Regions from separate parts of the Homo sapiens genome. Here region 1 is linked to region 2. The links are contacts of gene promoters, found by promoter capture Hi-C in blood cells and fetal thymus (Javierre and others, 2016). All regions are on one chromosome and are shown on one strand. The core of a region is centred on a gene start or on the middle of the fragment in contact, and the rest is flanking DNA. Distances in the headings are between cores, read along the strand shown.

Region 1 (3,885 bases), core at 1,386-3,885, 420 kb before region 2:
AGGAGCTGCCCGAGGCTGGGCACTCACTGTAAGTGTTTGAAGGTGATGTCTGGGAAGCCTGTGGCCCTGGAGCCGGAGGGGGAGCGGCAGAGTGCCAGCACATAGGCACGCAGCGTTGCAATCCTTTCCACACGGAACTTGGCTTCAATTAAATCCAGGTGCGTCCCGACCACCAGCACCACGGCGTTTGGGGCCTTGGCCTGCAACAGAGAACCCCACGGCTGAGTACTGTCTCTGTTCATGGAACAAGGGACAGGACAGAGCTCCCAGCTGTGCAGGTGCGCTGACCCTGGATGCCACGGCCCTTGCTCAGCCACCAATCTGCAGCCTTGAGACGGTTTGGATGTTTGCCTCCTCCAAATCTTATGTTGAAATGTGATCCCCAGTGTTGGAGGTGAGGCCTGACGGGAGGTTGGGTCATGGGGCCAGATCCCTCATGAATGGCTTGGCACCTTCCTGCAGTAATGGGTGCGTTCACCCTATGTCAGTTCACAGAGGAGCTGATTGTGGAAAGGAGGCTGGCTCCTCTTCCTGTCTCTCCTGCTCCCTCTCTCACTATGTGACATGCTGGCTCCCCTTCCCTTCTGCCATGACTAAAAGCTTCCTGAGGCCTAACCAAAAGCCAACAGATGCTGAAGCCATGCTTGTATAGTCTGCGGAATTGTGAGCCAAATGAACCTCTTTTCTTCATAAATTACCCAGTCTCATTCCTTTCTAGTAATGCAAAACAGACTGCGCTACAGGATGTCAGCCCAGGCAGCACCTGTGCTCCTCATTCTCCGTGAACCTGAGGGACTGTTGCATTGAGGGGTGTCTATGGTGTTCTGTGACCTCCTCCACGGAGGGTGCTGAGTTGGACTTGTGGGGAGGGATTTCTGACCCTTCAGACATGACAGCAGCCATCAGAGGCAGGGAGACAAGGACATCTTTATAACAGGAAGGGAACCCTGCTCTGCTTTTGGATCCAAGGGTGGGGGTTCCTAAATTTAAGGGAAGCGGGGAAATTACATCACCAGCCCTCAGCAGAGGAAGGTTTCAAGTGCCTCACTGTGAAAAGCAAGCAGGACCACGGTTCTGGGGCCCTCTGTGGCAACATAACCCCCTTTTTTTCTCAGTACAGGGGATGCTTGAGGGAAGCGGTGGGACCTGCAAAGCTCTGGGCACTGAAATGGCAGGGCTGGCGTCTGGTGTCCTCACCTCGATGTTGAGCAGCCAGAACTGGAGGTTGGCCACGGCCTCCTCCCCCAGCGCCAGGTTCCAGACCACCACGTACAGGGCCTTGTCCGTGAAGAAGCACTGGTTGACAGTGGCCATGCTGGCCGGTCCCCCGATGTCCCAGACGTTGAACTCCACGGACTCAACCTACTTGAGCAACAAGGCAGCGACAGGGAGGCATTTTAGAGACAAAGGCTTCAGTCAATCAAACGGAGACAACGGATAACTCTGGAGGCTGGACTCGGGGGTCTGAAAAAACAACCGTGGAAAAGTTCTGGACACTCTATTGTTTCTTAGGAAACAGTTATCTGGGCGAGGGACAGGGGCCCGGTGGCATGGGGGTGGGCTTCTGGGACTTCTGTCTACTCCTAGCAGAGCAGAGACCAGGCCCTGGACAGACTTCAGAGGGCCTGGCTCTGTCTGGGCTGCAGATGGGTAGGGGATGCCCTGTGGGAGGAAGCTGTGCTCTGATGTCACGGCTTGCACTGGGGTTCAGCCTCCCTGTGTGCCAGGGCAAGAGGAGGAGATGGGCCTCTGAACTTGTGGGGCTCAGAGGGTGGCGCCCACCAAGGATGCTGGGAAACTCCCTCCCACCCTGTGGGAATCAAACAAAAGATGAGCTGTTGGGCTGCCGGGAACGGCTGTGTAAACGGTGGTTTCTCTATCATTGCATGAGGTAAGAGTCTGGCCCTGGATGCTAAGGCTGCAGTTTTCTACAGAAAGGAGTCATCTCTGTGAGGCAGCATCAGCCTCCAAGACACAGTGTGCTGACCTGGTTTTGTATAAAGATGAAAACAGCTGTTCTCAACTGGCTGAGGCCGGCCACAGAGAGAGCGGCGGGCTCAGCCTTCACAGGATTGTCCTTCCACTAAAGGGTAGGGGGTTTTAATCATCGCAGAAAGGAAGTGGGGGTGAAGGTCAGGAAAAATAGAAGCACGAATTCACCCCTCAGGCCTCAGCTAGAGGAAGCTAAGAGAAGAAATGAGATTGCATAACTGTTAAGAAAAAGGCAAAGCTGGAGAGAATGCAGAGGATTCTGGTTCCTGGAGAGAACCTTCAGACTCGAGTCAGCTAGATTTGCTCCTGGAATGTTCTAGGATTGGCCTAGCGTTGATTGTCGTGTTTGATTGTTCTGGCCCCAACAGGCAGCGCTTCACCCCTTGGAGGACCAGCTTCCAAGTTCGTGTTAGAACAGATGCACAGCTTCAATGCCTACTTTTTCAAAGCAGGTTTGGAAAGTGGTTGTGTGTGGAAGAAGCTGCAGTGTTTGGTTGGCACTGTGCGTGGGAGCTTTGGGGGAAAATCATGGACCATCTGGATCTCAAGCCTCCTCAGTTTTCCACAGTGAAGCAGCCTCTTGCCCCTTGGATCCCGAGGAATCACAGGGTGGCAGAAATCCAAATACAGTTGATGAGGATGGCCTTATCTATGTGTGTTCGTTCCCCGAGCTCAGAGAAAGGGCTAACTGCCCCTGCTCTATTCCAGGGATGGAGTTCCCACCAACAGTCCATGGCTCTTTTCTCTGTTACATGAACAGGAAAATGTTCATTTCCATTTGCCTGGCACTGAATGGAAAGCAAGATGATTAAGAAGTTTATGGATGGACTCAAAAAATTTTTTTTGAATGGAGTCTTGCTCTGTCGCCAGGCTGGAGTGCAGTGGCATGATCTCGGCTCACTGCAACCTCCACCTCCCGGGTTCAAGCAGTGATGGATTCATTTTAAGTAGGGCTTAGAAACAGGACTTTTCAGAACCTGGGGTGAAAGCAGGTGTCAGGGACGGCAGGGTGTTAAGTCCCAGAGTGCTTTTAGCCTCCTCATCAGGGGGCAGATGCTGGTGTGTTTCACTGCCTGCAACAGTGGTTAGCTCTCAGCCCTGGGGGTGCCTTATCCCAGACCACTTGAACTTGAATCCTTGGGGTCAGAGAGCAGTGAGGTGAGGCCTGGGAATTGCTATCTTTAAAAGCCCCTCAAGGGAATCTAACAGACAGCCGGGGTTAAGAACCACTGTCCCAGAGCCTCAAGTAACTATAACAGAAACATACAGGGCAGGTGGATCATTTAAGCTGGGGAGGTTGAGGATGCATCCAGCCTGAGAGACACAGTGAAACCCTGTCTCAAGAAAAAAAAAAAAGAAAAGTAAAGAAAAAGAAAACATCACAAAGTCACATTAAGAAATGATTCGCTGCTCTTGGCAGAAGCTGGTATGGAATGGTACACAGTGGCTCCTGCAAAGGGCCTGAGCTTTGGACACCAGGCTGAGAAAATCCTGGGCTCTCTGGGGAGAAGGGAGAAGGAGTCCAAGGGATGTTCCTCCCACCCACAGGGACTCTGCACGCAGACCATCCTTGACCTTGGCTCTCGAGCCAGCCGGCCTCTGGAGCTCCCACTTGGTGGTCCTGATGGTGGCCTCTCCATGCACCACCTGGGGGGCCCTCCCCGTCTGTAAGATCTCCAGGAGGGTGGACTTGCCCTGGCGCGGGGGACCCACGATGATCATCTTCATCAGCTTGCACTTTTCCGCTTTCCGCAGCTGAGCACGCAGGTAAGACAGCATTGCTTTGGGGCCTGTGCAAAATCATTAAGGGGAAGGGTAGCTGCGTGGGCACATGCTCACATCTCTTAGGACACAAAATCCTGTTGTGAAGGAACTCCTTCTTTGTGTTTTAGT
Region 2 (4,066 bases), core at 1,381-3,880:
ATACTCTCAGTCATTCTGATATTAGAAACATGACAGATGTTGACAATTTACACATATTCCCTAATCTTAGAAAAACTATTAAAAAATGAGATGATCCATGAAATACGATTTAAGCAATGAGAATGAACTGGCTGAGAGCCAGAGTAAAGACTTATCCTCTCTTACCTTATGTGCTGGACTAGCCACAGACTCCTTCCCTTTACCATCTCAGGTGAAACTACTCTTTAGAAATGAAAGCGTCCTAGAGTTACATGTAAAGCTGAAAAAATATTTAACTGAGAGGCTTGAATACAAAACACAGTACTTCATTTTGATCTTTAGAACATACTTCAAATATTTTAGCATTTTTTAAAAGTTCTGAAGTAATCATTAGGCCATCTCCCTGACAACTTCCATACTTACATAATAAAAATTAGCCTTTAAAGATTTCCGGGTAGCTTTTACTGAAATGATGTAGTCTAGTACTCCTGATTCCCTACATATACATACAAAAGCTGCCCTAAGTTTTCAACAGGGAACAGTCATTGGTAGATACTGATTCTAAATCCTATTCCCTAGAATCTCTTCTTTTGGCATGCAGTTCCATGTCTCAAGAATATGCATACCTCAGATCCCCTTAAAAGCTATGTCTTTATCTCTTTAGCTATGTCTTAAGAATTAACAGAATCAGTAAAGATACTAATTTCTTTTTGTGGAGGGCAGAAAGTCCAGTGGAACATAGGAAATCAAAAATATTAACTTCTGCTATTTTAAGCACTTCCTTGTAACAAAAATTCCCTAAACAATTTGGGATATTAAAATAACTCAGATTAACAAGTCACTTTATACTTTTGCTACTGGATGTTAAAAAAGTCATCCATTTGGCTAATTTTGGAATTAAACCTTGTATAATTTCCATGCTTATATCCCCCCTTTAGGAATTACACTAATGTCCTAAGTTTACTTTCAGAGCATTTTCAGAAGCAGCAACAAAATATGGCAGCAGAAATGTGATCACATGAATTAGATGCTTAAATTTCAATCCAGCAAACTCTACGTAAAAGTTTTAAAATGAGAAATCTTTTTTATAGAGTGCTAAAATTAAGACCCAGATATGTAAACACACCAAAAGGTTCCTTTGTTTTTAAATTCCTGAGTCAAACGATTAATAAGATATTGTGCAAATTTTTAAAAGTTCTCCTAGAAAATCTGAGGTGTAAGAAACATTGTATCTTTATAAGTTTCAAAGCCCATCCACATTTGTCACACACAAACACACAGAAAGCCCAAAGAGTTAATTATGCCTAAGTGCTTCAGGGTAATAATGTTGTCTTCATACCATTCACACTCTTAAGGTACACAGGTTGGCTTTCTAGTAGGAAATAAAATCAAACTATTTTCTGAAACTCATAAATCTCAGGCCAATAATTTACCTTTCTCTACCAAATCGTTGTCAGTTAGATAACTCAAAAGATTTTTCTGATGCAGGTAGAAGAAAGGTGATAGGAAAGAGTAAGGGGGAAAACAGTAAATTGTGGTTTAATTAAAAAGGAAAGTCATTCAGAATTAACAAGCAATTAACAAGGAATTGAGGAATTCCTATGAGAGTAAGGAAGGGAGGGTAGCTACAAAAAGGTCTCAAAGCCTCAGAGCAGAGTAAATGGCACAGTGTACCAAAAGATAATGAAAAACACAGAAACACACTGTACAGAAAGAAAGTGGGAAAATACTGTCCTGGGTAGAGAAGTTATAAAATGTTAAGTATCAGGCACGGGTAATGTTTTTGTTTTTCCTGGGAAACTGGGGGTGGGGGTGGGGGGGGTAGGAAAGGTTGCATTCCCAGGCAACCACCCTGAAAATAAACCACTGCTTAATGAGGTAGGGGCCAGGAATAAACAACGGGGGAGGGGAGGGCTGGCTCATTACCTTTACAGACGATGCTGGTCAGAGGCACTGTGCCTTCTGCTTCTCTGATAGGTGGGCAGACCTCTTCCTGCTTTCGCGTCTTCTTCAGCCAGCTCAAACCTAGAAAAACAGAAACCAGTGAGTGGTGTAGTGTCTCAGAGGTGGGGAGGGGGGAGCTCAGGAAAGGGGCTGGAGAGTGGCAAGGGCAGGCAAGAAAAAGCAGAGATTTTCCTCCCTCCTACCCTCCCAGCCAGCACTCTTCCCCTCGGGGGAAGTAAAGGACTTTACCTGTCTCCTCAGCTGCTGCTTCTCTTCCTCCTTTCAGCCTCCTCTACACTCACCAACTTCTCCATTGAAGAAATACCCCAGGCAGGGCCGGACCCTGGTGTTCCTGATCCTCCTCGGTGCCTCACGGCCCCAGCCCGGCGAACATCCGAACAGCCGAGAAGGCAGGAGGTGGCGATCCCGGCCGCCGGGCAGCCTTGGGGCAGAGGTGCAGGGAGGCAGGGAGGAAGTCCTGGCTCGGGTGGGGGGGCAGTCCCGGTCCAGGGCTCGGAGCAGGGGGCTGCCGCGCTCCGGGCCGGAGGCTTCCAGCTACGGAGGGACCCAGGAGGTCTCGGGACGGCGAGGTCCCAGGTCATACGGGGCCCGAAGTGCCAGCCGTGGGGTCTCCGGACAGGGGGCTTTCGGGATGCACTTTGCACTGGGCCACCCCCGCCCCCTCCCTTCAGCACTTTGGGGTCACTGGGATGGGACCAAGCCTTCAACAACCAATCAGCGCCCGCAGTGGAGCCTGAGCCTGGAGCCGTAAACCAGGTCCGGGATGGGTGGGGGTGGAGGGAGTAGGGACGACTTGGTTGGTTGGTTGCTTCCTTCTCTCCTCCTTACCCCCGGCAGCCCCCACCCTCTGCCTGCCGTAAAGTTGCCTTTGCATTCGCGACAGTTAAGGGAGGCGTGCCGAACGGGGCAGAGATTCGTCTCCGATTGGTCTCACTCACTTCCCCTTACAGCTTCCCCGTGGTGGCTTCCGAGGCTCCGCCCCTGGCGGAGGGACTCAAAGCCGTTGCTAAGAGACACTATTCGCCGAAGGCGGTCTCTGCGCATGCGGGAGGAGGTGCCAGCTTGTACTTTCTGTGAACTACGGTGGCCCAGAGCGGGCATTTGTGTTCCCTCAAATGGCGGTGTGAAGAGAGTTCGCCTGAGCCAGATCCCAGGCAGGTAACCGGGACCGGCCGCCGTGCTGGCAGCAGGGGAGGCACGAGTGCGGCCAAATGAGAGCCTGGTTCAGGGCTTAAGGTTGGGAGGGCGGCAGGCTCCAGGAAGCGAGTAGAGGGGTGCCTTGTTTCTCCGCCCCTGTTCAGCGCTTGTCAGACGCAAGTGCCCGGTCTTGGCGCGGCTGTCGGTCCTTGAGACCCCGTTAGCTTCCAGGCTGGCAATGCCTCGCCTGAAGTGGGAGAACGGACTCTCTTTGGGATAGCGATGACGATCCAAGGACCTTCCTGAAAGGATAGCAACGTTGGCGGGTTCCTGTGAATGAATGGAGAGGGGTCGTGGGGAAAACGCGAGATAGACTGATCAAGACACGTTTGTTAAGCACTTTATTCATTAGCAAGTGTTTACTGGCCACTGTTCTAGTCCCTGGGGAGACAACAGTGAACAAGATAGTGATTTCGGGGAAACAAACACAAAATTATCAGATAGGGATGGGTTATATGAGGAAAATCAAGCAGAATGGTGGAATCGATTTTGACCAGGACGTGATGGGCTGTATTAGATAGGTAGTGCTATGGTGTGAATATCTGTCCCCTTCAAAACTCATGTTGAAATTTAATCCCCAATGTGGCAGTACTGAGAGGTAGAGTCTTTAAGAGGTGGTTGGACCGTGAGGGTTCTGTCTTCACGAGTGGATTGATCTATTCATGGATTAATGGGTTATCACGGAGGTAGAACTGGTGGCTTTTTAAGGAGAGACTTGACAACTCGTGAGCCTGCTCAGCCCCCTGGCCACGTGATACTTTGCGGTGCTGTCTCGTGGTCCGTCAGTCTTAGACTTCCCAGCCTCCAAAACTAGACAATAAATTACTTTTCTTTATAAATTACCGAGTTTTAGGAATTATTTTATAAGCAACAGGAAACGGACTAAGACAGATAGGAAAGGTCTCTGAGGAAGTGACATTTGAGC

The links. Contacts are between HindIII fragments. The CHiCAGO score rates a contact against its expected background, and 5 or more counts as called.
Region 1: a contact is called between a fragment that was not itself captured here and the fragment with the promoter of ASB7 in region 2, in 1 of 17 cell types (monocytes). The highest score is 5.1, in monocytes.

What each region holds. Positions count from the first base shown.
Region 1 is chr15:101,022,280-101,026,164 of GRCh38, reverse strand. LRRK1 (leucine rich repeat kinase 1) reads right to left here. Exons shown (of 34, transcript NM_024652.6): 15 at 3,568-3,782; 16 at 1,198-1,362; 17 at 28-200. Among named protein-coding and RNA genes, the nearest start is that of LRRK1, 100 kb to the right of the region's middle. The HindIII fragment of the contact is 4,066 bases long and covers 603-3,885 here.
Region 2 is chr15:100,601,153-100,605,218 of GRCh38, reverse strand. ASB7 (ankyrin repeat and SOCS box containing 7) reads right to left here and starts at 2,630. Exons shown (of 6, transcript NM_198243.3): 1 at 2,173-2,630; 2 at 1,906-2,004. LINS1 (lines homolog 1) reads left to right here and starts at 3,035. Exons shown (of 7, transcript NM_001040616.3): 1 at 3,035-3,098. RefSeq lists silencers at 1,848-1,897, 2,348-2,607 and an enhancer at 2,778-3,117. The HindIII fragment of the contact is 6,685 bases long and covers 1-4,066 here.